5 separate regions of the Homo sapiens genome follow, and regions 2, 3, 4 and 5 are each linked to region 1. The links are contacts of gene promoters, found by promoter capture Hi-C in blood cells and fetal thymus (Javierre and others, 2016). All regions are on one chromosome and are shown on one strand. Each heading gives the region's core, a stretch centred on a gene start or on the middle of the fragment in contact. The rest is flanking DNA. Distances are from core to core; before and after follow the strand shown. Region 1 holds the start of PTH2 (parathyroid hormone 2). Region 2 overlaps TRPM4 (transient receptor potential cation channel subfamily M member 4). Region 3 overlaps LOC107985340 (a long non-coding RNA gene). Region 4 overlaps LOC107985340 (a long non-coding RNA gene). Region 5 overlaps SLC6A16 (solute carrier family 6 member 16).

Evidence for each region. Contacts are between HindIII fragments. The CHiCAGO score rates a contact against its expected background, and 5 or more counts as called.
Region 2: a contact is called between a fragment that was not itself captured here and the fragment with the promoter of PTH2 in region 1, in 1 of 17 cell types (naive B cells). The highest score is 5.0, in naive B cells.
Region 3: a fragment that was not itself captured here is called in contact with the fragment with the promoter of PTH2 in region 1 in 2 of 17 cell types (total B cells and naive B cells); the score reaches 10.1 in total B cells.
Region 4: a contact is called between a fragment that was not itself captured here and the fragment with the promoter of PTH2 in region 1, in 3 of 17 cell types (total B cells, naive B cells and endothelial precursors). The highest score is 10.4, in total B cells.
Region 5: a fragment that was not itself captured here is called in contact with the fragment with the promoter of PTH2 in region 1 in 2 of 17 cell types (naive B cells and total B cells); the score reaches 9.9 in naive B cells.

What each region holds. Positions count from the first base shown.
Region 1 is chr19:49,420,913-49,426,391 of GRCh38, forward strand. PTH2 (parathyroid hormone 2) reads right to left here and starts at 2,529. Exons shown (of 2, transcript NM_178449.4): 1 at 2,300-2,529; 2 at 1,507-1,730. The coding sequence starts at 2,427. The coding sequence ends at 1,556. It overlaps GFY (golgi associated olfactory signaling regulator), which reads left to right and starts at 4,476. Exons shown (of 4, transcript NM_001195256.2): 1 at 4,476-4,577. RefSeq lists a silencer at 2,645-2,848. The HindIII fragment of the contact is 6,183 bases long and covers 1-4,062 here.
Region 2 is chr19:49,196,681-49,201,926 of GRCh38, forward strand. It overlaps TRPM4 (transient receptor potential cation channel subfamily M member 4), which reads left to right. Exons shown (of 25, transcript NM_017636.4): 17 at 1-194; 18 at 3,620-3,752; 19 at 3,931-4,105. Among named protein-coding and RNA genes, the nearest start is that of TRPM4, 42 kb to the left of the region's middle. RefSeq lists a silencer at 79-405. The HindIII fragment of the contact is 1,142 bases long and covers 1,387-2,528 here.
Region 3 is chr19:49,225,091-49,230,569 of GRCh38, forward strand. All of the region lies in intron 1 of LOC107985340 (a long non-coding RNA gene), which reads left to right. Among named protein-coding and RNA genes, the nearest start is that of TRPM4, 70 kb to the left of the region's middle. RefSeq lists an enhancer at 989-1,038. The HindIII fragment of the contact is 825 bases long and covers 2,214-3,038 here.
Region 4 is chr19:49,245,599-49,251,077 of GRCh38, forward strand. The region is part of intron 2 of LOC107985340 (a long non-coding RNA gene); the gene reads left to right. Among named protein-coding and RNA genes, the nearest start is that of MIR4324, 61 kb to the right of the region's middle. The HindIII fragment of the contact is 8,311 bases long and covers 1-5,479 here.
Region 5 is chr19:49,286,902-49,292,380 of GRCh38, forward strand. SLC6A16 (solute carrier family 6 member 16) reads right to left here. Exons shown (of 12, transcript NM_014037.3): 11 at 3,704-3,866; 12 at 2,737-3,491. The coding sequence ends at 3,222. Among named protein-coding and RNA genes, the nearest start is that of MIR4324, 19 kb to the right of the region's middle. The HindIII fragment of the contact is 6,288 bases long and covers 1-5,479 here.

The sequences.
Region 1 (5,479 bases), core at 1,279-3,778:
AAAGTCTAGACTTTTGAAATTGCACATACCCGGATTCCAGTTATTCTTTTGTCGCTTAGTAGCTCTAACAACTTAGGAAAATTCCTCCTGACTTTCAGTCTTATTTGTAAAATTAGGCCAACTCCAGATAGTTTTGAGGAATGCAGTCTTTCCTTTGTTATTCGGAAGGACAGAGGAAACAGTCCCGCCCCCACAGTCCAAGGGCCAATTAGGGCTCGGTCCGCCTCCCGAAAATGCAAATTTTGGGACGCCTTGCCAAACACGCGCGGCGGCCCCGCTTCCCGCGCAGCAGACGCGGCCGGCTCCACTCTCTTCTTTAAACCAATGAGAGCGCGGTCCGCACGAACGGCGCCCCAGGCGCGCTGATCTAGCCCTCTGCGGACCACCGGGTTGCCATGGTTACCACGAGGGGCGGAGCTGAAGGGCAGGCTGGACCTCCGGGGAGAGAGACAGATTTCGATTGGCTCTTTTCTCGCTTCACCTGCAGCCCAGGTATCTTCCCGCCCTTTCCCTGTCCTTTTTGGAGCCTGACGCCTGCTCCTTTCTCTTCTCCTGCCCCAGCCTGGCGCCCCGAAGGTCTCTAGAGAAGGAGACCCGAAGTCAGAAAACCCTGAAAAAAATTGCTGGACGCTGCTGTGAGAAGAGGAAACCCTTTTCAAATAAAAGCGTTTTGCTACGTAACGGGCGCTGTACTGAAGTCTTATGAAGTATATCTTATTGGATCCTCGTAACAGATGAAGAAAAGGAGACACAGAGACTGACGTCAAGAAGGCTTTCTCAGTACTACGCAGCTAGATTTGGAGGACCCTGGGTTTGGATGCTAGGGCTGCCTCACACCAGAGCCCGCGATCTTTCCACTGTGCCTGGGGAGAAGTCTGGAAGTGATGGGAGGGAGGAACAGCGAAATTCAAAGATGAGAGCTGATGGAGAGACAGATAGAAACCTAACGGAGGAAAGAAAAGGAAGATATGAAGGAGTCAGGCAGAGGAAAAAGGAAAAAAGAAAGTGATGGAGAAGGGAAGGAAGAGTTTCAGAGGCAGAAGGAGAATAGAGAGAGGAGGCAGAGATTCCCAGAAGACCAGAAAGCCAAAAGGGTGAAAGGGGAGATAACCACAAGGACCCAGGGAGACGGGGACACATACCCAGAGAGGAAAGAGACCCAGAGAAAGGGACAGAGACGGAGGAGGACAGAGACCTTGGAGATTACAGAGAACCAGAGAGAAGGGGACAGAGATGGGGGTAGGGAGGGACAGGGGCCCAGAATGAAAGGAGGGGGCGGGGGGGTGGGGGCGATAGGGAAGCAGAGATCCAGAAATAGGAAAGAAGCCAGCTTCCTGGACAAAGACAGGCAGAGAGAAACGGAATTGAGGAAAGAAAATAGAGTGGGGACTGAGGAGAGAGATGCCAGAGTGGCCGACACAGAGTCCTGTCTCTTTTCTACCCCCCATTTCAAGCCCCGCGCCCCCAACCCAACGCACACGCAGGTCGCGCAGGAACTAGGCGCAGTCCGGAGCGCAGGGCATGGTCTTTATTAAGATGGGGACGGGCAGCGCGCTCAGGGCGCATCCAACACCAGCAGCTTGTGCATGTACGAGTTCAGCCAGTGGCGGCGCTCGAGGGCGGCCAGCAACCGCGCGCGCTCCCGGAAGGCCGCGTCGTCCGCCAGCGCCAGGCTCCTCCGCGGCCTGGGGGTGGCGGGATCCGCCCAGGCCCGTCCTGGGGGGCGGAGGCTGTGGAGAGACGCGGTGACCGCGCGTCCAGACTCGCTCTTGCCGCCGCCTGTCCTCCCCGCGGTCTAACTCGAAGCCCCGTTACTGCCCAGTCCGTGGAGTGGCTCGGTCCGGCTCCCCCTGTCTCTCTCGTTCTCTGTGTGGGTCTCTGTCTCTCTGCTCACCAGGTTCGAAACTCCCCAGGTACTGAGACCGAGTCTGATGCACTTGTCCGCCCACAGCGCTCAGCGCATGGCCAGGCGCACACCAAGAACCCAATAAACGTTGCTCAAAGAATGAATCCGTTTCTGCAACGACTCCTTTCGAGCCTCTCCACGCCTTTCTCGGGATCTATCTTTCTGTGTCTCTTTCCCTTGCTGATTTTCTGTCCATTTCCCGCACCACCACTACCACCAAACCCTCCTCCCGCCTTCCCCCACCCCTAGTCTCTGTCTTCTCGCTGGGTCTCGGTCGCCCTCTCTTTGGGCTTCTGTTCCGCTTTCTGGATCTTCCGTCCCCTTTCTCTTTGGTTCTCTTCCCACTTCTCCAAGTTCCCACCCCTCCCTGGGAGTTCTGGGACTGGCACCTACCTGAGGACCCCGACCGGGGGCAGGGCGACTCCCGAGGCAGTGCGGACGCCCCAGGGCACCACCAGCAGCAGCAGCAGCAGCAGCAGCAGCCGAACCCGAGGGCTCCTGGACACCTGGCGGGTCTCCATCACCTGTGGAGAACCAGAAAGGGGCTCAGTAGGGCTGCATCCCGGCCCAGAACCCCGGGCCCCACCATGCATCCACCCCCAGCTTCCCGCACAGTCCCCTACCGTGCAGTGGGCTGGGGCAGCGATGGTGGCAGCCCCCTTATATCGCCTCCGCAGCCCCCGCACCGGGCAGTGACGCAGGCCGGGGGGCCGGGGACGCGGGGTCACCCCCTCCCCAGGCTCATTAGGAGCCGCCAGCGGTAATGAGGAGCCGGGGGTGGGGGACCTGCCGCTGCCTTGGCCGCCACCAACTAATTGGGACCAGAAGCTGGACCTGAGACGAGGGAGGGGGAGAGACAGACAGACAGAGAGGTGGACACAGGGGGTGTGTCAGAGGGCTAAAAATAGAGACTGGCGGAAGGACCGTCAGAGGAACAGAGACACAAAGAGAAGGACAAAGACAGAGTGGCCGAGGAAGAAATAGAGAGAAAGAATGGGAACGACAGAAAAAGAAAGGAAAAGGAAGAAAACAAGAAAAGAGAGCGAAGGAGATGGAAACGAACAGTCAGATGGAGATGGAGGAGGGAAAGAAAAGGCTCTCAGAAAGACAGACGGAAATGGAAGGACGTCCTGGTCTGGAAGGAGCTGCCCAGAGATAAATACAGCAGCGAGAGGCCCAGAAAGATCGAGGGTGAGGTAGGGAGGGGGGAAAGGCAAGAAATGGCAAAGGGTACGTGTGGCAGGGGTGTGAGGACAGGAAAAGTGACAGACCACATCAGAAAAACCTCAGAGAGTGAGAAGAGGGGAAAACAGACAGGGCTCCTGAGCTGCCCTAAGGATGTGTCTAAGCCCTTATCTGGGAGGAGTTTGGGGGTGCTGTGAAGATTAAAGCCCAGTCCTCCTCACACTGACTCTTTTTGTGTGTGTGTGTTTGTCTGTTTGAGATGGAGTCTTGCTCTTGTTGCCCAGGCTGGAGTGCAATGGCACTATCTCGGCTCACTGCAACCTCCACCTCCCAGGTTCAAGCCATTGTCCTGCCTCAGCCTCCCGAGTAGCTGGGATTACAGGTGCCCACCATCACGCCCAGCTAATTTTTGTATTTTTAGTAGAGATAGGGTTTCGCCAAACTGTTGGCCAGGCTGGTCTTGAACTCCTGACCTTGTGATCTGCCCTCCTTGGCCTCCCAGAGTGTTGGGATTACAGGCGTGAGCCAGCACACCCAGTCCACACTGACTCTTAAGAGGGGCCTCAGCCGGGTGCTGTGGCTCATGCCTGTAATCCCAGCACTTTGGAAGGCCGTGGTGGGTGGATCACTTGAGGTCAGGAGTTCGAGACCAGACTGGCCAACATGGCGAAACTCCTTCTCTACAAAAATACATAAATTAGGTGTGGTGTAATCCCAGCTACTTGGGAGGCTGAGGCAGGAAAATCGCTTGAACCTGGGAGAGGGAGGTTGCAGTGAGCTGAGATCGCACCACTGCACTCCAGCCTGGGCAACAGAGTGAGACTCTGTCTCAAAAAAAAAAAAAAATTTAAAAAGAGGGGCCTTTATACACAGTGAGGAGAAGATGGGCAAAACTTGGAAGTCCTACAGAGCAGTAGAAACTTGGGATGTGGGAACTTGGGCTCCTAGTTTCCTAGGAAGGTGGTGGCAGAAGCTTGGACTCCTGAGTCTAAGAGTGGATGGGACAGGGACCCAGATTCCTATGTTCTGGGGAAGGAGGAGGCTGGGGACTTGGATTCCTGAATCTGAGGAAGGAAGGAGCTAGAGGACTGGAGTTCTGAGTCTGGGGGGAGGGAGCTGGGGGATACAACTTAGGGGACTTGAAATAGGAAGGTACCAGGGAACTAGACCCCTGGGTTTTCAGGTAGGAGAGGGTAGAGGGCCAGGACCACTGGTTTCAAAAAAATAATTTGGGCCACATCTCCACTAGATCAATCCAGTTTCTAACTCCCTTCCCCACCCCAGAGAAAATGTCCTTTACTTCTGTCCCTTTAAGAGTCTAAGTCTGTCGCTAGGCTCCCAGGATCCCCTGGGAGGGGGTGAGGTGCGTCACCTGTGTGCCCCTGAGACCCTACCTCCCACCGCCCTGCCCAGATCTGTTCTGCAACATTCACCGTTCTCTGCATCCAGCTCTGCTTATCTGCTGTTACCTTGGACACCAGAGCAGGTAAGAGACCCCAGGACCTCAAGTAAGCCTGTCCCATCGATGTGTCGGCCGCCTCCACCTCCACCTGAACACAGACCTATGCTTCTCTGCCCAGACTGGCCCCGGAGATGCCGAAATCCTAGCTCCATCTTCAATAACAGACTTGAGAGTCCTGCCCCAAAGCTCTCTTCTTCAAGTCCCTACCCCTCTACTCTGCAGAGCCCAGACCCCAGACCCTATTTCTGGAGGACTCAGAGCTCCCAATTCCTTTCTAACTCAGGAACCAAGAGCTCAAGGCCTCTTATCTCCTTTCACCCCTGCAATCCAGCCCCCAAACCTTGCTCCCTCAAAATTCTAGGCACCTGAACTTCCAGCCTTCTCCTCTCTAAAGAACCAGGAGCCAGGAACCTCAGCCCCCTCACCCTGCAAGACGCAGGAGTCTGAACCCCCAGCAACCTTCTTAACCCAGAGCCCAAATGTCTCCCTCCTCCCTCAAATCCATGAGTCCAGCCCTCAGCCGTTAGGAGCCTCCTGTAGTGTAAACAACTGTTGAGTCAAGGTGTCCCGGGGGACCTCGGAGAGGAAGGAGATCCCACGTCCCCTCGAAGCCCTGACACTCCCTAAAGTCGAAGTCGAGGAGATCTGAGGCCTGGAGAAGTGTCGTTCTTTCCCAATTTTTCTAGGACCCCTCGCTGAAACAGATAAGGAAATTAACTACGACTCCCAAGTAGCCCCGCGCCTCAGTCTCTCTTGGCTACCTGGGCCATCGCCCCACAAGCCTCCAAGGGACTTGCGATTGGGTTCTCTTCCCATCCCTGGCGCCAAGCTGGGCCCCGGACAGACGTGGTCCACCTGTGTTCCAGTGGGCGTGGCCTCCGGGAGTGGGCGGGGCTCCTGGGAGCCTTCGGCCTTAACCCCTTCCT
Region 2 (5,246 bases), core at 708-3,207, 220 kb before region 1:
TATTTCTGGGCTTTCACGCTGCTGTGCGAGGAACTGCGCCAGGGCCTGAGCGGAGGCGGGGGCAGCCTCGCCAGCGGGGGCCCCGGGCCTGGCCATGCCTCACTGAGCCAGCGCCTGCGCCTCTACCTCGCCGACAGCTGGAACCAGTGCGACCTAGTGGCTCTCACCTGCTTCCTCCTGGGCGTGGGCTGCCGGTGAGTGCCCCGGGGCCTTGGAACCCTGGCCCCTGGCCACCTCTCATCCTTCCTGCCCACTCCCGGGGTCTCCACTCCCGGCTTCCCCGCAGCTGGGCAGCAGGTCAAGCCAACCCTGCTGATTGAGAACCCCTCTTAGGAAAGTCGGGCATGACGATTGCCCCAGGGTAATTGGCTGGCACCTGGAGATCTGGCTTCAGGGACGGCAGGATTCAGGAGAAAACCCCACTGTCCGCCACTCAGCCTCTGCTGCTATTTATTGCTAGGCCTGAAGTTTAACAGATATTTATGGGAGCGCCCCGACCTGGGTGCCAACCTCACCTCCTCCCTTCTCTTCCTCCACATAGCTCGTTGGTCCCAGGCCCCTTGCCCTCCTGCCCCCGACTTTTTCTTTCTTTCCTTTTTTTTTCTTTCTTTCTTTCTCTTTCTTTCTTTTTCTTTCTTTCTTTCTTTCTTTCTTTCTTTCTTTCTTTCTTTCTTTCTTTCTTTCTCTCTCTTTCTTTTCTTTCTTTCTCTTTTCTTTTCCTTTCTTTTCTTTTTCTTTTTCTCTTTTCTTTCTCTCTCTCTCCCTCTGTCCTCTGCCCCTCTGCCTCCCTCCCTCCTTCCTTCCTTCCTTCCTTCCTTCCTTCCTTCCTTCCTTCTATGCTTCCTTCCATCCCTCCAAGCTAAGGGTTTAACCCTTGCCCTGCCTGCATTATGGAGTATCCTGCATTAGGATACTCCTCCTTTTGAGGAGAGCAAACAGAAAAGTTTGTGGATACAACCTGGTGACTGGTTTTTTGTTTGTTTGTTTGTTTTTGTTTTCTTTCTTTTCTTTTTTTTTTTTGAGCCAGAGTTCCGCTGTGTCGCCCAGACTGGAGTGCAGTGGTACGATCTTGGCTCACTGCAACCTCCACCTCCTGGGTTCAAGCGATTCTCTTGCCTCAGCCTCGTGAGTAGCTGGGATTACAGGCATGCACCACTACACCTAGCTAAATTTTTTTTGTATTTTTTTTGTAGAGATGGGGCTTTGCCATATTGACCAGGCTGGTCTTGAACTCTTGGCCTCAAGTGATCCACTGGCCTTAGCCTCTGAAAGTGCTGAGATTACAGATGTGGGTCACCGTGCCTGGCCAACAACCTGGTGACTGTTTACAAGGGACCTGACACATCCTGAATGGTTGACAGTGATGACAGTGATGATCCCTACTCAAGCTTTTCCCAGTAGACACGCTGAGAGGCAGGCTTCCTCTAAGCTATGTTAGCAGTGTTACAAAGTGATTCAACATAAATAATTTATTCAAGCAGGGAGCAAGATATGAGAGTTTTGCAGAACACTAATACTTCTGTTTGTAATTTGTTGTATTTTGTATAAAGTGACTTTTGAGATGAAAGGGCTAAGGCCATATGCTACCATGCTCTAGGATTGCCAGTGATATTTTGGACAGTTTATCAAGCCTACCACTTTCCAGGTGAAAAATGGAAAGATCTCAGCTTAAAAGGGAGAAACGGGCCTGGCGTGGTGGCTCATGCCTGTAATCCCAGCACTTTGGGAGGCCGAGGCGGGTGGATCACCTGAGATCAGGAGTTTGAGACCAGCCTGCCCAACATGGTGAAACCCCATCTCTACTAAAAATACAAAAAATTAGCCGGGCATGGTGGCAGGCGCCTGTAATCCCAGCTACTCGGGAGGCTGAGGCAGGATAATTGCCTGAACCTGGGAGGCGGAGGTTGCAGTGAGCCAAGATCATGCCACTGCACTCTAGCCTGGGTGAAAAGAGCAAAACTCTGTCAAAAAAAAAAAAAAAAAAAAAAGGGAGAAATGTCTAATCATCTCCGGAATTGAATGGATGAATCATCCTTTGTTTCGCCAGTTCCCTCTAGATGGACATTTAGGTTCTCTCTTTCTTTCTTTTTTTGTTTTAAATAGAGACAGGGTCTCACTCTGTTGCCCAGGCTGGTCTCAAACTCCAGGGCTCAAGCAATCCTCCCACCTTGGCCTCTCAAAGTGCTGGGATTACAGGCGTGAGCTACTATGCTCAGCCTTCTGTTTTTTTATTATTCCAAAATAATAAAAGTTTACATCCCAGATGTAAAGTTTATGGGTCAAAGGGTACATTTATTTTTGACATGGATAGATTTCCTTCTAAGTAGCTTCACTCATTTCCACACCTGCCATCAGGGTAAGAGAGTGCCCCCTTGAGGCCATGCTCGACAATGCCTGATACTTTCACTCTAAAATGTAGCTCTCAATTTAACTGAAAAAAAATTTGCCAATTTAATGGGTAAACATGACCTCTCCTTGTTATAATTTATGCACTCTTGACTACCAGATAGGTTGGACATCTTTTCCTAAGCTTAATGGCCATATGTCCTTGTGCCCCCTTGTTTTTTTTTTGGTTTTTGTTTTTGTTTTTGTTTTTGAGACGGAGTCTCGCTCTGTAGCCCAGGCTGGAGTGCAGTGGCGCGATCTCGGCTCACTGCAACCTCCGCCTCCCGGGTTCACGCCATTCTCCTGCCTCAGCCTACTGAGTAGCTGGGACTACAGGTGCCTGCCTCCACGCCCGGCTAATTTTTTGTATTTTGTAGTAGAGACGGGGTTTCACCGTGTTAGCCAAGATGTTCTCGATCTCCTGACCCCGTGATCCGCCCGCCTCGGCCTCCCAAAGTGCTAGGATTACAGGCGTGAGCCACTGCGACCGGCCACCCTCCCGTTTTTTTAATTGGGGTTCATTGATTTGTATATGTATAAATGTATATACTCCTTATACTCTGGATCCTAATCCTCGGTAGTTTTGTTGGTCTTAATATCTTCATATCTTCTCGAAGTCTGTGGCTTGTCTTTTCACTTTCACTTTTGTATGTTTCTTTTCTTTTCTTTTTTTTGAGCCTGCCTCGGCCTCCCAAAGTGCTGGGATTACAGGCGTGAGCCACCGCGTCTGTCCATACACTAGGTTTTTAATCCATCCAAAGTTTAAGTACATGAGGATGCAAAATAGGGGTAGAATTTTTATTTTCCCCATAGGAATTATTGATGTTTACTGGCCGTTTGAACGTCCTCTGTGAATTGTACGTGGTATCCTTTATCTGGCTTCCTTCCTTTTGCGTATTAGTTTGTAAGGACTCTATATGTTTTGCCTTTTATAGGTTGGACAGATATTCCGGCAGTTTTTCCAGCTTGATTCTTACAGGGACCAGCTCTTTGCTAAGGCCATCGTTCATTCAGTCATTACTTAATAGGCGCAGCCATTTTAAAAATGGGTGCCAGGGCCCTGCATGGACCAGCTTGGTACTGAATAAATTTGAGTAAACCCCGGGTGACTGGGAGGGTCCTGGTCCTGCCCGGTGGAGGCTGCAGCTTCCTCTGAAGGATGGCATTGGGAAGACTTCCATTTTCCTTGGCGTCTTGTGACACTTGACCCTTGTGGCATCTCCCCACACCCCAGGCTGACCCCGGGTTTGTACCACCTGGGCCGCACTGTCCTCTGCATCGACTTCATGGTTTTCACGGTGCGGCTGCTTCACATCTTCACGGTCAACAAACAGCTGGGGCCCAAGATCGTCATCGTGAGCAAGATGGTGAGGCAGGGGCGGGGCCAAAGTGGGCGGGGACATAGGGAAAGGGGTGGGGCCAGGGAGGGAGTGGTCCGTGGAGAAGGGGCGTGACTTTGGGGAGCAATGGGGCGTGTTTTTGGGATATAGGGGTGGGGCCAGAGTAGGAAAGGGCGGGGCCAGACTCAGCCACATCTCCCCACAGATGAAGGACGTGTTCTTCTTCCTCTTCTTCCTCGGCGTGTGGCTGGTAGCCTATGGCGTGGCCACGGAGGGGCTCCTGAGGCCACGGGACAGTGACTTCCCAAGTATCCTGCGCCGCGTCTTCTACCGTCCCTACCTGCAGATCTTCGGGCAGATTCCCCAGGAGGACATGGACGGTAGGGGGGATGACGGCCTGACAGCCTTCCTCTGAGTCTCTGTCCCCGCTCCCTGGGTCTCTGTCCTCCTGGCTCTAAGAAAATATCTGTCTCTCTGAGTCTCTGTCTCCCTCTTTCTCTGGATCTCTGAGTGATACCCTATATTCCCCATCATCATCTCTCTGGGTCTCTGCCTACCCCACCCCCTCTGTCTTTCTGTCTGTCTTTCTTTTTTCTTTTTTTTTTTCTTTTTTTTTGAGATGGATGTTAGAAATGTTTATTTTGTGGTGTCGTAAAGAAATAGTACTTGAACATAAATTTAATTTTTTTAGTAAAGCCATTTTTATTTTTTGTAGAAAGGGTACACTCGCCAGCAGTTTTGTCATGAGAGTACACGGAACAAAGGAGATAGGGTCATTTATAACCTGACGCGTCTATTTTACTGCTGTGTCTGGTTTTTATTGGCTGGAACCGGACTTTACATTTTGTATTTGTCTTGATTGGCTAGTAACTTAGAAGTTTTTAAAAGAAGCGAAGGCAGAGGAGAACAAAGGAAGGAGGAAGTAACTTGTGGAATGTTGAGAAAGGTAAAAACACTTTTAAATAAGGAAGAGGAACAGGCTATGATCTAATGCTTGCTTGAACCAGTATAAGTATGTCAGGGCAAATATTTAGGCTAAATTGTGAGAGCTAAGAACATAAAGTACATTGATTTATTTTTTATGGCTAGTAGATATTTAAGAATGTTAGCACAGGTGTTTGAATAAATTTTGTTTCTAAGAGAAGTTACTATTTATTGTTAATTAGATGGGGAGGAAAGTCTTTGAAGAGGAACCTGTACTTTACTTTTTACATGGAGTTTTGCTCTTGTTGCCCAGGCTGGAGTGCAATGGCACGATCTCAGCTCACTGCAACCTCCACCTCCCAGATCGAAGCGATTCTCCTATCTCAGCCTCCCGAGTAGCTGGGACTACAGGCGCGTGCCACCACGCCTGGCTAACAGTTTTGTGTTTTTAGTAGAGATGGGGTTTCATCACATTGGTCAGGCTAGTCTCAAACTCCCCACCTCAGGTGATCCGGCCATCTCAGCCTCCCAAAAGTGCTGGGATTACAGGCGTGAGCCACCGCGCCCGGCAGTCTTCCTGTCTTTCTTAGGTCTCTG
Region 3 (5,479 bases), core at 1,376-3,875, 200 kb before region 1:
GGGCAGCTGGGCTGGGTGCGGTGGCTCACACCAAGAGGTGGGTGGATTGCTTGAGTCCAGGAGTTCAAGACCAGCCTGGGCGACATAGTGAAAACCCATCTCTGTTTTTTTTAAATTAAAATTTTATTTATTTATTTTGAGACAGAGTCTTGCTCTGTGACCAGGCTGGAGTGCAGTGGTACGATCTCGGTTCACTGCAACCTCCACCTCTGGGGTTCAAGCGATTCTCCTGCCTCAGCCTCCCCAGTAGCTGGGATTACAGGCACCTGCCACCATGCCCAGATAACTTTTGTATTGTTAGTAGAGACTGGGTTTCACCATGTTGGTCAGGATGGTCTTGATCTCTTGACCTTGGGATCTACCCACCTCTGCCTCACAAAGTGCTGGGATTACAGGCGTGAGCCACCGTGCCCGGCCCTGTCTCTCTTCTAATAAATAATAAAAAAAGAAAAGAAGGCCGCTATGAATCACTATTAAGCTCTCCTTGAAAGCAAACGCCTGGCTTGTGGTGGCCTTTGACTCCCCAGCCTCACACCCTTGTTCTCGGGTAGGTTAACTGCAGCTTCACTAGCAATACCGGAAATGGCCAAAGGTAAAGGGTACGTCTAAGAGCACAGCTGGTCTGGTCCTCAGGTCTTCTGAGTTTTACATACAAAAGTCACAGCTACCCCTGTTTCTTCTGTTTTCTGTTTCGAGACGGTCTTGCTGTGTTGCCCAGGCTGGAGTGCAGTGGCATGATCGTGGCTCACTGCAGCCTGGAACTCCTGGGCTCAAGCGATCCTCCCACCTCAACCTCCTGAGTAGCTGGGACTATAGGCATGCGCCAGCATACCCGGTTAATTTTTTAATTTTTTTTTTTTCCAGAGACAGAGTCTCGCTGTGTTGCCCATGCTGGTCTTGAACTCCTGGGCTCAAGCAATCCTCCTGCCACGGCCTCCCAAAGTGCTGGAATTACAAGTGTGAGCCGCCGCACCCCGCAGCAGCTACCCCATTTGGAGAAAACTCTCCTCCACTCCCCTGCCTGAGGCAATTCCTCTGGCTCAATGGGGCCCTCAATTCAAACGGGTTCCCTTAAACGGCTGGGCGCATTCCACTATGTTAAACCTAAAGATGTCCACTAGGGGGCAGCAACCACCTAACCCCAACACCAACTCCGGAAGACATTGATTGCAGTTTGGTTGATATTTAAGGTATTCAATGGGACTTTGTAACTTCCTCACTATCTGCGGGTGTCTGGTATTATTGATTGTTGGATCATCTTCCTCAAGAATCAGCTCAAAAAGGTTTCTGGTTTCCCCTTCCTACCTCTTCCTGATCCACACACTTTATTTATTTATTTTTTGAGACAGATGCTCTGTTGCTCAGGCTGGAGTGCAGTGGTGCCATCTCGGCTCACTGTAACCTCTGCCTCCTGGGTTCAAGCGATTCTCCTGCCTCAGCCTCCCAAGTAGCTGGGATTATAGGCGTCACCATGCCTAGGTGATTTTTGTATTTTTAGTAGAGATAGGTTTCACCATGTTGGCCAGCTGGTCTCGAACCCCTGACCTCAAGTGATCCACCCGTCTTGGCCTCCCAAAGTGGGGGGATCACAGGCGTGAGCCACCACACCCGGCCGCACACACTTTACTCAGGCCGTTTGGTCACTGAATGTGGCAGTCCCAGAAGAGGCTTCATCTCTTCTTGGCTGCATCTTGGATAGTCCCTGAGACAGAAGTGTTGGAGGAGTTACAGAGACCCGAGGTCAGGAGATCGAGACCATCCTGGCTAACATGGTGAAACCCCGTCTCTACTAAAAATACAAAAAATTAGCCGGGCTTGGTGGCGGGCGCCTGTAGTCCCAGCTACTCAGGAGGCTGAGGCAGGAGAATGGCATGAACCCGGGAGGCGGAGCTTGCAGTGAGCCGAGATCACACCACTGCACTCCAGCCTGGGTGACAGAGCAAGACTCCGTCTCAAAAAAAAAGTACAATTTTGCCCGCTGACCATTGTTGGGAATGATGCATCTTTCTTTCCGCTGGACAGCCTGGTGGTCATGCCCTCCAGATGGCAGTTGAGTCCTGAGGGGGCCAAGTAGGGGATTCAAACTAATGCTGGTTTAGGCACCAGAATCCCCTTGTTGGACCGACATGGTGCTAGATCAGGAGTTGGCACACTATAGCCTGTGGGATACATCTGGCCTGTGACCTGTTTCTGTGTGGTCTATAAACTAACAAAGCTTTTCATATATTTTAAAGAATGTGTTGTTGTTGTTGTTGTTGTTGTTGTTTTTGAGATGGAATCTCGCTTTGTCGCCCAGGCTGGAGAGCAGTGGTATGATCTTGGCTCACTGCAAGCTCCGCCTCCTGGGTTCACGCCATTCTCCTGCCTCAGCTTCCCGAGTAGCTGGGATTAAAGGTGCCCGCCACCATGCCCGGCTAATTTTTGTATTTTTAGTAGAGACGGGGTTTCTCCATGTTGGCCGTCCTGGTCTTGAACTCCTGACCTCAAGTGATCCACCTGCTTCAGCCTCCCAAAGTGCTGGAATTACAGGCGTGAGCCACGGCTCAGCCAAGAATTGTTTAAAAAAAAAAAAAAAAAAAAAAAGCCAGGTGTGGTGGCTCACCTCTGTAATCCTAGCACTTGGGGAGGCTGAAGCAGAAGGATCACTTGAGCCCAGGAGATCAAGACTAGCCTGGGCTATGTGGTGAAAGCCTGTCTCTACAAAAAATTAAAAATTAGCTGGGTGTGCTGGTGCACGCCTGTAGTCCCAGCTACTCGGGAGGCTGAGGTGGGAGGATCGCTTGAGCCTGGGAGGTCGAAGCTGCAGTGAGATATTATTGTACCACAGCTCTCCAGCCTCAGTGACAGAGCAAGATCTTGTTTCAAAAAGAAAAAAGAAAAAGATGACTATGCCACAGAAAACAAATGCCCTACAAAACCCAAAATACTATTACCTGGTTCTTTCCAGAAAAAGTTGGCTCACTCCTGTGTTAGTTGAAACAACCTGCTGATATTACTTATGTGGCTTAACTGAGACAATGTAACGGTAATTCCAGCCAAGCTTAACAACAAAATCCAATGACTGTCTCTTCTCAGGTTGGGGAGGTAAGCTGTGGCATGCCCATTGTGGATGGGGGTTGCTTTTAGGCTCATCTGTTGTCACCCTGTAATTGTTTGTAAAGACATCAAAGATCAGATCAGTTTTTTTATTTTTAAATTTCTTTTTTTGGTATTTTAGCAGATCAGCCTAAAGTTCTCTGCTCTGCTTATAATGGACAATAGAGTCGCCTTAGACTATATCCTGGTTGTCCAAAATAAGATGTACTGGTCCTCTGGGACCAGTTTTTACTTTTTTTTTTTCTGAGATGGAGTTTCACTCTTGTTGCCCAGGCTGGAGTGTAATGGCATGATCTCAGCTCGTTGCAACCTCTGCCTCCCGGGTTCAAGCGATTCTTCTGCCTCAGCCTCCCAAGTAGCTGCGATTACAGGCATGTGGCACCATGCCCGGCTAATTTTGTATTTTTAGTAGAGACGTGGTTTCTCCATGTTGATCAGGCTGGTCTTGAACTCCTGACCTGAGGTGATTCCCCCTCCTCGGCCTCCCAAAGTACTGGGATTACAGACGTGAGCCACCACACCTGGACTTTTATTTTTTTTTTATTTTAATTTTATTGTATTAGAGACAGGGTCTTGCTCTGTCACCTAGGCTGGAGTACAGTGGCGTGATCTTGGCTCACTGCAACCTCAACCTTCTGGGTTCAGGGGATCCTCCCGCCTCAGCCTCCCAAGTAGCTAGGATTACAGGTGTGCCACCACTTCTGGCTAATATTGTTTTTGTATTTTTTGTAGAGATGGGCCTTCACTACGTTGCCCAGGCTGATCTTGAACTCCTAAGATTAAATGATCTGCCGGTCTCAGCCTCCCAAACTGCAGGGATTACAGGCATGAGCCACCTTGAGACTTATTCACAGTTGGCTGAGTCTAGGACCCTGGGGGACATAGTTGAGAGTTGAGGTCAATACTCAAGGTTGGCCTGATCTTGCTGTTGGGAGTCCCATCAAAAGTAGCCTTAATTAAAGGCCGAATGAGACAAATTGAAGTGATTTTTTTTTTTTTTTTTGAGATGGAGTCTCTGTGGCCCAGGCTGGAGTGCAATGGCACAATCTTGGCTCATTGCAACCTCTGCCTCCCAGGTTTAAGCGATTCTTCTGCCTCAGCCTCCCAAGTAGCTGGGATTACAGGCACCTACCACGACACCTGGCTGTTTTTTTGTATTTTTAGTAGAGAAAGAGTTGCCCCATGTTGGCCAGGCTAGTTTCAAACTCCTGACCTCAAGTGATTTCAGCCTCCCAAAGTGCTGGGATTACAGGTGTGAGCCACCATGCCTGGCCTGAAGTGATTTTATTCCAGCCTGTTAGTTAGATGAATCAGAGTGGCTGATGGGTGTCAGAGTCATTTGAAAACTTGCCAGAAGCTAAGATGATGCGGGTCTGGGGGTGGGTATTGCTGTGTTGGGAGACTGTCCTCCACAGTTGTCTTGTGTTTCCTGCATGTTGTGTGGGGTGTGCATGGCTGCAAGGCCCTGGTCACTGTTTCTTCAGGGTTGTTTACGCAGCTGGCAAACTTGAGCAATGAGGCAACCCCTCCCCTCTCACAAAGAGAGGCTTGCTTGTTGATTGCTATAAAGAAGAGGGGGTTCCCTAAGCTCAGTGCTCCTCTCCTGTAATACAACCCTCTGTACGTGCAGGCATCCACCTGGGCCCTGGCATTGCCCTTACAGAGTTTGGAGAGAAAGGAGAACCAATGAAAACATGCTGTGTTTATGCTGCTGGCTGTACTGGGAGGAATATGGTCCTTTGTCTCTGACCCAGGAGTTTCATGTCTTCTGCCAAGATACATTACATGGACAGATACATTAGGTAGATAGATACATTAGATATAGATAGATACATTAGATATAGATAGATACATTAGATATAGATACATTAGATATAGATGGATACACAGATAGATACACAGATAGATAGATAGATAGATAGATAGATAGATAGATAGATAGATAGATTCATTTATTTATTGAGACAGAGTCTTGCTCTGTCACCGAAGCTGGAGGGTAGTGGCTTGTTCTTGGCTCACTGCAACCTCCACCTCCTGGGTTCAGGTGATTCTCCTGCCTCAGCCTCCACAGCAGCTGGGATTACATGCCCACCTAATTTTTGTATTTTTAGTACAGACAGGGTTTCACCATATTGCCCAGGCTGGTCTCGAACTCCTGACCTCAGGTGATCTTCCCGCCTTGGCCTCTCAAAGTGCTGGGATTACAGGCATGCACTACCGCGCCCAGCCAGATGCCGCCATTAAGTGCTTTTTTGGGAAGAGGTTGCTCACACCTCCATTTGTACAAGGGATACTTGCATTCTATTAGATGGAAGCACAATGATGTTTTCTTGTTGTATAAAAGTTTAAATAAGGGTAGATTTGTGTGAACAGATACTGAGTA
Region 4 (5,479 bases), core at 816-3,315, 180 kb before region 1:
TTTTGTATTTTTAGTAGAGACGGGGTTTCACTGTGTTAGCCAGGATGGTCTCGATCTCCTGACCCCGTGATCCGCCTGCCTCGGCCTCCCAAAGTGCTGGGATTACAGACATGAGCCAGCGTGCCTGGCCCCGGCTATTTTTTTTTTTCCTTTAGACAGTCTTGCTCTGTCACCCAGGCTGGAGTGCAGGGGCGTGATGACAGCTCACTGCAGCCTTGGCCTCCCGGGCCCAAGCGATCCTCACGCCCAGCATCTTGAGTAGCTGGGACCACAGGCATGTGCCACCATGACCAGCTAATTTTTTTTTTTTTTTTGTAGAGACACGGTCTCCTTATGTTGCCCAGACTAGTCTCAAACCCCTGAGCTCAAGCGATCTTCCTGTCTTGGCCTCCCAACGTGTTGGGATTACAGGCGTGAGCCACCACACCTGGCCAAAACTCAGTTTTTATTGAGCTATAATTTACAGACAACAAGCACAGATACTAAATGTATACTTTAATGAGTTTTGACAAATGACCCCTGTCACCAATGCCCCAATTTCCGTCACTCCAGAGAGTTACTTTGGGTTCCTTTCTCTTCACCCCAGAAGCAATGACTGATTTCCATCACTACATATAAGTCTGACCTGTTCTTGGGTTTCATAGATAATAGATTCACACAATACATAGACATTTGTGTCTGGCCTGTTACATTTAATATAGAACATCTTTGCTAAGCCCGAGGTCATAAAGATATTCTATGTTTTCTTCCGGAAGTTTCTAGTTTTGGCTTTTGAATTTAGGTCTTTGGTTCCTGTTAATTTGGGGTGGGGGTATGGTATGTGGCAGGAATATGTTTATATTTTTCTATATGGCTATACAGTAGTTCTAGCCCTGTTTGTTAAAAAGACTTTCCCTTACCCATTGAATTGCTGTGATATCTTTACTGAACATCAATTGGTCATATGTGTATAGGTGGATTTCTGTTCTGTTCTATTGATCTTTTGGTTTATCTTTAGGCTAATATAACACTGCCCTGACTACTGTAGCTTTATAGTAAATCTTGAAATTCGATAGTATGAGTCTCCAACGTGTTCTTTCTCAAGATTGTTTGGACTACTTTAGGTCTTTTGCATTTTTTTTTTTTTTTTTTTTTTGAGATGGAGTCTTGCTCCATTGCCCAGGCTGGAGTGCAGTGGTGTGATCTCAGGTCATTGCAACCTCCCTGCCTACTGAGTTCAAGCAATTCTCCTGCCTCAGCCTCCTAAGTGAAATTACAGGCACCCGATACCACGCCTGGCTAATTATTTTTTAGTAGAGATGGGGTTTCCTCATGTTGGCCAGGCTGGTCTCAAACTCCTGACCTCAGGTGATCCTCCTGCCTTGGCCTCCCAAAGTGCTGGGATGACCGGCATAAGCCACTACACCCGGCCGGTCCTTTGCATTTTCATGTACATTTTAGAATCAGCTTGTCAATTCCTCAACAAACCTGGCTGAGATCTGAATTGCCATTGTGTTGAATCTGTAGATCAATTTGGGGAGAACTGATATCTTGTTTTTTGAGACAGAGTCTTACTCTGTTACCCATGCAGGAGTGCAGTGGTGCGATCTCGGCTCACTGCAGCCTCTGCCTCGCAGGCTCAAGCGATTCTCCTACCTCAGCCTCCTGAGTAGCTGGGATTACAGGTGTGTACCACCATGCCCAGCTAATTTTTTTGTATTTTTAGTAGAGACAGGGTTTCACCATGTTGGCCAGGCTGGTCTCAAACTGCTGAGCTCAAGTAATCCACCCACCTCGGCCTCCCGAAGTGCTGGGATTACAGGCGTGAGCCACCACGCCCGGCCTACACCAATTCTTTGAATTCATAAACAAATATTTCCATTTATTTAGGTTTTTCTCTCAAAAATACCTTGTAGTTTTCAGTATAGAGATTTTTGAATATCTTTTGTTAAATATAGTCTTAGCATTTGATTTTTGAGGCTATTGTAAATGGTTTTGTTTTTAAAATTTCACTTAACTATGGTTTGTTGCTAGTATGCAGAAATGTGATTATTTTTGTATATTGGCTTTTATTTTTGTGACTTTCCTAAGTGCACTTATTCTAGTAGCTTTTTATTTTTGTAGATTCCCTAGGATTTCCTAATTACATGCTTATGACATCTGTGAATAAAGACAGTTTTACTTCTTCCTAGCCAGTTTCTATGCTTTTTATATCTTTTTCTTGCCTTCTTTCACTGGCTAGGAACTTCACTATAGTGTTGAACAGAAGTGGTGTAAAGGGATTTCCCTTCCCTGTTTTCAGTATTGGGGAAAGTATTCAGTATTTCATCATTTAGTATGATGTTAGCTGTAGCTTTTGTCATTGTTGTTAATATCCTTAACACAATGAATGATTCTCAACCGAGGGTGATTTCCCACCTCTTCCAGGGACATTTGGTAATGTCATATGACTTTTTTTTTTTTTTTTTTTTTTTTTTTTTTGAGACTGAGTCTCGCTCTATCACTCAGGCTGGAGTGCAGTGGCGTGATCTCGGCTCACTGCAAACTCCGCCTCCCGGGTTCACGCCATTCTCCTGCCTCAGCCTCCTGAGTAGCTGGGACTACAGGCGCCCGCCACCACGCCTGGCTAATTTTTTGTATTTTTAGTAGAGACAGGGTTTCACCATGTTAGCCAGGATGGTCTCGATCTCCTGACCTCATGATCCGCCCACCTCGGCCTCCCAAAGTGCTGGTATTACAGGCGTGAGCCACTGCACTTGGCCTGTCATGTGACATTTTTCATTGTCACAAACAGCTGAGTGGGGAGCGTTGATGCTGGCATCTTGAGGGTGAAGGCTAGGAACACTGCCAAGCATTCTAGGATGCACAGCACAGCCTCTCCCCACCCCAGCAAAGAATTTTCTGGGCAAAATCCCCATCATGTTCAGGTAGAGAATCTCTGCCCAGCACATGGAGGAAGTTCTGTTGTATTTCTAGTTTGTTGCAGGTTTTTTTTCCTCCAATAATAGGTGTTGAATTTTGTCAAATGGTTCTTCCCTTTAATCTATTAATGTAATAAGTTACATTAATTTCTGGGATAAAACCACTTGCTTATACTGTATCCACTTTGTTTGTGGATTAAATTTGCTAATATACTTTGAGACAGTCTCTCGTTCTGTCGCCCAGGCTGGAGGGCGTGATCTTAGCTCACTGCAACCTCCGCCTCCTGGGTTCAAGCTATTCTCCTGCCTCAGCCTCCCGAGTAGCTGGGATTATAGGCGCCTGCCACCACGCCCGGCTAATTTTTATATTTTTAGTAGAGATGGGGTTTCATCATGTTAGCCAGGCTGGTCTCAAACTCCTGACCTGAAGTGATCCACCCACCTCCCAAAGTGCTGTGATTACAGGCACAAGCCACTGCGCCTGGCCAAATTTAACTTTTAAACTCAGAAATGGGGCTATTTAGATTTTCTACTTGCATCAGTCTTTGTAATTTGTACCTTGCAAGGTGTTTAAGTTGAACTTATAGGTATAATTTTGATCATAATATTCCATTATTATTTTGATGTCATCAAGATCTATGATGGTGCTCCTTTTGTTTTAGAGTCTCTGTTGTGCAGGCTGGGTCACCGCAGCCTCCACCTCCTGGCTTCAAGCGATTCTCTTGCCTCAGCCTCCTGAGTAGCTGGGATTACAGGCACATGCCACCACACCTAGCTAATTTTTATATTTTTAGTAGAGATGAGATTTTGCCATGTTGGCCAGGTGGGTCTCAAACTCCTGACCTCAAGTGATCCGCCTGCCTCATTCTCCCAAAGTGCTGGGATTACAGGTGTGCGCCACTGTGCCTGGCCAATTCCCTGTATTTTAAATGTTTTTTTTTTTTCTATCTTTTCCACCAGCTACTGAAAAGAAAGTGTTATCCAACTATGATTATGAATTTATGTGTTTCTTGCTGGAGTTCTGAAAATTTTTATCTATTTTGAAACTGTTATGAGCTGCATAAACATTTATATAATTCTGGCTTCCTGCTGAATTGGCTCATTTATCATTATGAAATCCTCTTCCTAATCTGTAGTGTTACTTGCTTGACTTCGATGTTAATGTTACCACACTAGCTTTCTCATTGGTTTGCATGGTATGTTTTTCCATTCCTTTTTTTTTTTTTTTTTGAGACGGAGTTTCGCTCTTGTTGCCCAGGCTGGAGTGCAGTGGCACGATCTTGGCTGACTACAACCTCTGCCTCCCGGGTTCAAGCAATTCTCCTGCCTCAGCCTCCCAAGTGGCTGGGATTACAGGCATGTGCCACCACACCTGGCTAATTTTTTGTATTTTTAGTAGAGACAGGGTTTCACCATGTTAGCCAGGCTGGTCTCGAACTCCTGACCTCAGGTGATCCATCTGCCTTGGCCTCCTAAAGTGCTGGGATTACAGGCATGAGCCACCGTGCCTGGCCCCATTCTTACTTTAACCTGTGTCTTTATGAAGGGCATCTCTTGAAAACAGCCTGTGGTTGAGTCCTACATTATTTAGGTTGATAATTGCTGCCCTGCTTCTCTCCCCTCTCCCTCTGAAACTCCAATTATACATATATTAGTCTCACAGGTCGCTGATACTATGTTTAGCTTTTCTTAATTCTTTTTCTCTTTCTGCTTCACTTTAATTTCTATGTAGCTATCTTCAAGCTGATCCTCTCTTCCACTGGTTCCAGTCCATATTAAACCCATCCAGTGAAACTTTCATCTTTTTGTTTTAGAATTCCCATGAGGTTCTTTAGAGTTTCAATATCTTTCTGAATATTGAAAACCATCGCTTTCTATTAAATTCCTTAACATATTTGTAAGTTGTTTTAAAGCTCTTGTCTGCTAATTCTAATGTCTGGATGATCTGTGAGTCATTTTTCTCTTGGTCATGGGTTACATTTTCTTGGTTTTATTATTTTAAATTTTATGCTGGATATTGTATGTAGAAGAAAAAACGCATGTTATTTGTTTACTTTGTTTAGTTTCAATGAGTTCATGCCTTTTATCCCAAAAGTCGGCTAGGATGAGGGCTATTTAGATTTTTCTAAGAGTTGAGTTGAGCTGGGGCTGGGAACAGTCTTAATTAAATTTTTCTCCACCTTCACATGGAATTAAGAGAGCTCACTTCGCCCTTGATGCCCCAACCTTCTGCACCTGCCATCAGACTAGTTCCTTTGATGTTGTCATTGAGTTTGAGTGAGTTGGGTTGTGGCTTTAGATGTTTATGGTCTTTCTTTGTATTCAACTCCAGTGGGGCCCAGGACTCTGAGCATCATAAGACTTATACACACTTCCTCAGCAGAATTCCTGGGACTACTGTGAGGATAACTGTTGGATCAAGCAGTTGACTTATGTGTTGGGGATTCTTCAAGACTACACTACCTATTGGCAGCCCATGCTGTTATTAAATGCCTGGATGGTTTCTTCTTAGCTGTGCAAAAAGTCTGTCCACCTATGAAAACTCTTCCACTCACCTTACCCAGATTAAGCACTTACCC
Region 5 (5,479 bases), core at 1,678-4,177, 130 kb before region 1:
ACCTCTGTCCACAGCCCCCATCCCCAGCAGGTAACTGACAGGCCCCCCAGTCTCCTTTTGGGGAGTACTTCAGCACCCTCATGGCACTACCCTCCCACAAGTTCTTAAAGACCCACTCAGTGATCATCCACTGGGCAAGTTCAGTTGATTTGACCCTGGGATAAAAACCAGTGGTGCCCAGTACTGAGCAGAAATGGGACTCTTGGTGAGCTCAGTGAAACAGCTTGTTAGTAACTGGTTGTGGCACTGATTTACAGATGTACTCAGTCCACAACACAATGTTCAAACCTTGAGTGCAACCTCTTTTTAGAAATAATTTTAGACCTATAATAGGATTATCATGTATCAGTAGCAAGCACATTAATATCTTCCCCATCTTTGTTGAAGTCACCATTTCCCAGGTTTCCCTTGGCTAAAGGCCAGCCCGTGGATAATGCAAGCCTGGTAATCTAGTATCTGAGTTTGCCAGAGCAAGGGGAGGGCAGGAACTCAGGGCTGGACATTTAGCTTTAGAAAGACTGTGATATGGTTTGGCTGTGTCCCCATTTAAATCTCAACTTCAGTTGTATCTTCCAGAATTCCCATGTGTTGTGGGAGGAACCCAGGGGGAGGTAATTGAATCATGGGGGCTGGTCTTTTCCATGCTGTCTCATGATAATGAATAAATCTCATGAGATCTGATGGGTCTATCAGGGATTTCCACTTTTGCTTCATTTTCTCTCTTGCCACCACCATGTAAGAAGTGCCTTTCACCTCCCGCCAGGATTCTGAGGCCTCCCCAGCCATGTGGAACTGTAAGTCCAATTAAACCTTTTTGTTCCCAGTTTCAGGTATGTATTTATCAGCAGCATGAAAACTAATACAGTAAACTGGTACCAGTAGAGTGGGGTGTTGCTGAAAAGATACCCAACAATATGGAAGCAACTTTGGAACTGGGTAACAGGCAGAGGTTGGAACAGTTTGGAGGGCTCAGAAGAAGACAGGAAAATGTGGGAAAGTTTGGAACCTCCTGAAGACCTACTGAATGGTTTTGACAAAAATGCTGATATGAACAATAAGGTCCAGGCTGAGGTGGTCTCAGATGGAGATGAGGAACTTGTTGGGTACTGGAGCAAAGATGACTCTTTATTATGTTTTAGCAAAGTGACTAGTGGCATCTTGCCCCTGCCCTAGAGATTTGTGGAACTTTGAACTTGAGAGAGATGATTTAGTGTATCTGGCAGAAGAAATTTCTAAGCAGCAAAGTATTCAGAAGGTGACTTGCGTGCTGTTAAAAGCATTCCGTTTTAAAAGGGAAACAGCATAAAAGTTCAGAAAATTTGCAGCCTGATGATGCAGTGGAAAAGAAAAATCCATTTTTGAGGAGAAATTCAAGCCAGCTGCAGAAATTTGCATGAGTAGCAAGGAGCCTAATGTTAATCCCTTAGACCATGGGGAAAATGTCTCCAGGCCATATCAGAGACATTCATGGCAGCCCCTCCCATCACAGGCCCAGAGGCCCAGGAGGAAAAAGTGGTTTTGTGGGCCAGGCCCAGGGTCCCCATGCAGTGTGCAGCCTAGGGACTTGGTGCCCTGTGTCCCAGCCACTCCAGCCATGGCTGAAAGGGGCCAACGTACAGCTCGGGCTGTGGCTTCAGAGAGTAGAAGCCCCAAGCCTTGGCAGCTTCCACGTGATGTTGAGCCTGCGGGTGCACAGAAGTCAAGAATTGAGGTTTGGGAACCTCCGCCTAGATCTCAGAAGATATATGGAAATGCATGGATGTCCAGGCAAAAGTTTTCTGTAGGGGCAGAGCCCTCATGCAGAACCTCTGCCAGGGAGGGAAATGCAGAAGGGAAACGTGGGGTCAGAGCCCTCACACAGAGTCAGAGTCCCTACTGGGGCACTGCCTAGTGGAGCTGTGAGAAGAGGGCCACTGTCCTCCAGACCCCAGAATGGTAGAACCACTGACAGCTTGCACCCTGAGCTTGGAAAAGCCACACTCAACACCAGCCCGTGAAAGCAGCTGGAAGGGGGACTGTACCCTGCAAAGCCACGAGGTGGAGCTGCCTAAGACCATGGGAACCCACCTTTTGCATCAGCATGACCTGGATGTGAGATCTGGAGTCAAAGGAGATCATTATGGAGCTTTAAAATTTGACTCCCCTGCTAGATTTTGGACTTGCATGGGCCCTGTAACCCCTTTGTTTTGGCCAATTTCTCTCATTTGGAATGGCTGTATTTACCTGATACCAGTACCCCCATTGTATCTAGGAAGTAACTAGCTTGTTTTTGATTTTACAGGCTCATAGGTGGAAGGGACTTGCCTTGTCTCAGATGACACTCTGGACTTTTGGATTAATGCTGAAATGAGTTGAGACATTGGGGGACTGTTGGGAAGGCATGATTGCTTTTGAAATGTGAGGACATGAGATTTGGAGGGGCCAGGGGCAGAATGATATGGTTTCACTGTGTCTCCATTTAAATATAAACTTCAATTATATCTCCCAGAATTCCCACGTGTTATGGGAGGGAACCAGGGGAGGTAATTGAATCATGGGGGCTGGTCTTTTCCATCCTAATCTCGTGATAGTGAATAAGTCTCATGAGATCTAATGGGTTTATCAGGGGTTTCCACTTTTGCTTCTTCCTCATTTTTTTCTCTTGCTGCCATCATGTAAGAAATGCCTTTCACCTCCCACCATGATTGAGGCCTCCCCAACCATGTGGAACTGTAAGTCCAGTTAAACCTCTTTTTGTTCCCAGTTTCAGGTATGTCTTTATTAGCAGTGTGAAAATGAACTAATACAGACTGGAAGCCTTGTGACAGGAAAACTGAACATCTGAGACATCTATAGGAAAAAAAGATCTGCTTACATCCAGTCCTTGGAGTTCCAGTAGACTGATTTATTCACCAACAGCATTGCTCCTCCAGCTCCATTCCAGGAGACAGGCACCCCAGAAGTAGCAGGACTGGTAGACATCACTAGTATTGTATATGTGTTGTGCATGTATGTGTGTTGAGGAAGAGGATGGGGAAAACAATGATGGTGGTCACCAGGTAAGATGGGACCCAGGAAGGGATTGCAAGTCCAGGCCCCATGAACACCCCCAAAGAATGCCCCTCCTCTTGGAAATAAAAGTGGTTCTGGATCCAGGGAGATCAACAGTTGCAAGCTGATATTAAGAGTTGTCTATTGGATCTGTTCTAAGGGATATGTTATGTGAAGCCAAATTAATGAAGTTAGGAAGTCACATTACAAGTTGATGGGTACTTTGTTTCATCAACTTGTAGAATTTCTTCCTTTTGAACCTCTTTACTGGGTGTTAGCTGGTGACTTAGGGGTAGGGATGTGGAGGCTGTCATAGGCCCGTCTCCGCTCTTGGGCCTGAAGGGAATCCTATGTATGCGGCAGTATACAAAGTATGCAGGGATGGGGAGGATGACAATGGCAAAAAGGGTGATCATCAAGAGCAGTGCCCACGGTGGGTATGGTCGAAGCACCTCTTTTGACTGTGGAGAGATGGGAAAAGGGTTCAGAATATCAAAATCCCCAAGAGAAAAGGAAGAGTTGTGGAGGGGAAGGATGGGTGGGGAACCAAAGCAGAAAACCCATGAGTCTTCGGGCAGTAAGAGAATGAGATGACTGGGTTCTTTCACCCAGAGTGAATTGAAAGGTCTGGCCCCTACTCCCAAAGGGGTTCTGGGTCCTGGGGGAGGCTCACGGTGCTTGAGTCCCAGGACATGTAGGTGATCGGCTTCATACAAAGATGAACCATCATGGTCACAAAGATGATTAGCAGCACAACTGGACACAGATGGGGCCACAGCCAACCAAAGATGGGAGAGATGGGGTGGCCCAACAGGATCGTCAGGTCTGCAAGGAACCTGGAGAAGGGCCACCAGAGTGTGGGATGCCCAGTTAGGCCTCACCACCTTGGAGGCAGGGCCAGCCCAACCTTGGCATCTTTCAAACATTCTATTGTATCTCTAATCTCCTGTTTCATCTCAAGTCTTGTCCTCTCTCATCTTCCCCCTAGTCAGTCTGTCTTCTATCCTAACCCAAGAAACTTTTCCAAACACCCCTCTCCTGCTCAAGAACTTTCCATGGGTATCCAATGGCCTCAGGAGAAAGGCCAAGTCTCTTTCATTCATCCCATAAATATGAGAATGTCTATGATGTGCCAGGAACTCTTCTAAGTGCTGGATATCCAGCAGTGAACAACACAGATAAAATAAAGTGGCATTTGGCCCTTGGTGAACTTATCTAGTTTATTTCAGCCACCTATCCAGTCTCCTTTAGTACATATTCTCAATCTCAATAAATATACAAGTGGGGTCTTTTGGTCTAGGGTGCCCATCACCCTATCTCCACCTATTCATCTGTCCAGGCTCTGCTCAAGCATCCTCTTCTCTAGGCCACCTTCCCTAACTCTCCAGTCTTCCTTAACTAACCATCTATGCCCCCGGAGTTTCCCTGGCTACCTCTACTATAGACTTACCACCGGGTACTGGGATTTTCTGCTTATATACGTCTTTCTCTTTGGACTCTGAGCTCTTTGAGAAGAGTATCTCAATGTAAGTCATTCATATCCCAGTACCACAAGGCTTTCCTGACACAAAGTCTCAAGAAAATGTTTGTTGGGTGAGTTAATAAATGAGTCCATAAGTGAGCAAACTGACTCCAAGAACCACTATCAGATGAAAATGCTGAGGCTTTCACCCCTGAATTATACCAGGAACTCTTCTAAGTGCTGGATATCCAGCACTGAACACAGATAAAAGAAAGTGGCATTTGGCCCTTGGGAAACTTATCTAGTTTATTTCAGCCAACTATCCAGTCTCCTTTAGTACATATTCTCAATCTCAATAAATATACAAGTGGGGTCTCTTGGTCTAGGGTGCCCATCACCCTATCTCCACCTATTCATCTGTCCAGGCTCTGCTCAAGCATCCTCTCCTCTAGGCCACCTTCCCCAACTCTCCAGTCTTCCTTAACTAACCATCTGTGCCCCCGGAGTTGCCCTGGCTACCTCTACTATAGACTTACATTCCACAGCTATATCTTCCAGGTCTCACTCCCAGATTATCTTGTTCTCTTTCCCAGGTAGCTCTACCTTCCAGAATCAGACCACTTCTCTTAATCCACAACTCTTCTACTTTTGACCAAGCCATTCTTAGCTCTCACTTGAAATATTACATAGCTTTCACCAGGCGGGGTGGCTCACGCATGTAATCCTAGCACTTTGGGAGGCTGAGGCAGGTGATCACGAGGTCAAGAGTTCGAGACCAGCCTGGCCAACATGGTGAAACCCCGTCTCTACTAAGAATACAAAAATTAGCCGGGCGTGGTGGTGAATGCCTGTAATCCCAGCTACTCAGAAGGCTGAGGGAGGAGAATTGCTTGAACCCGGGAGGCGGAGGTTGCAGTGAGCTGAGATCGCACCACTGCACTCCAGCCTGGGCAACAGAGCAAGACTCCATCTCAAAAAGAAAGAAAA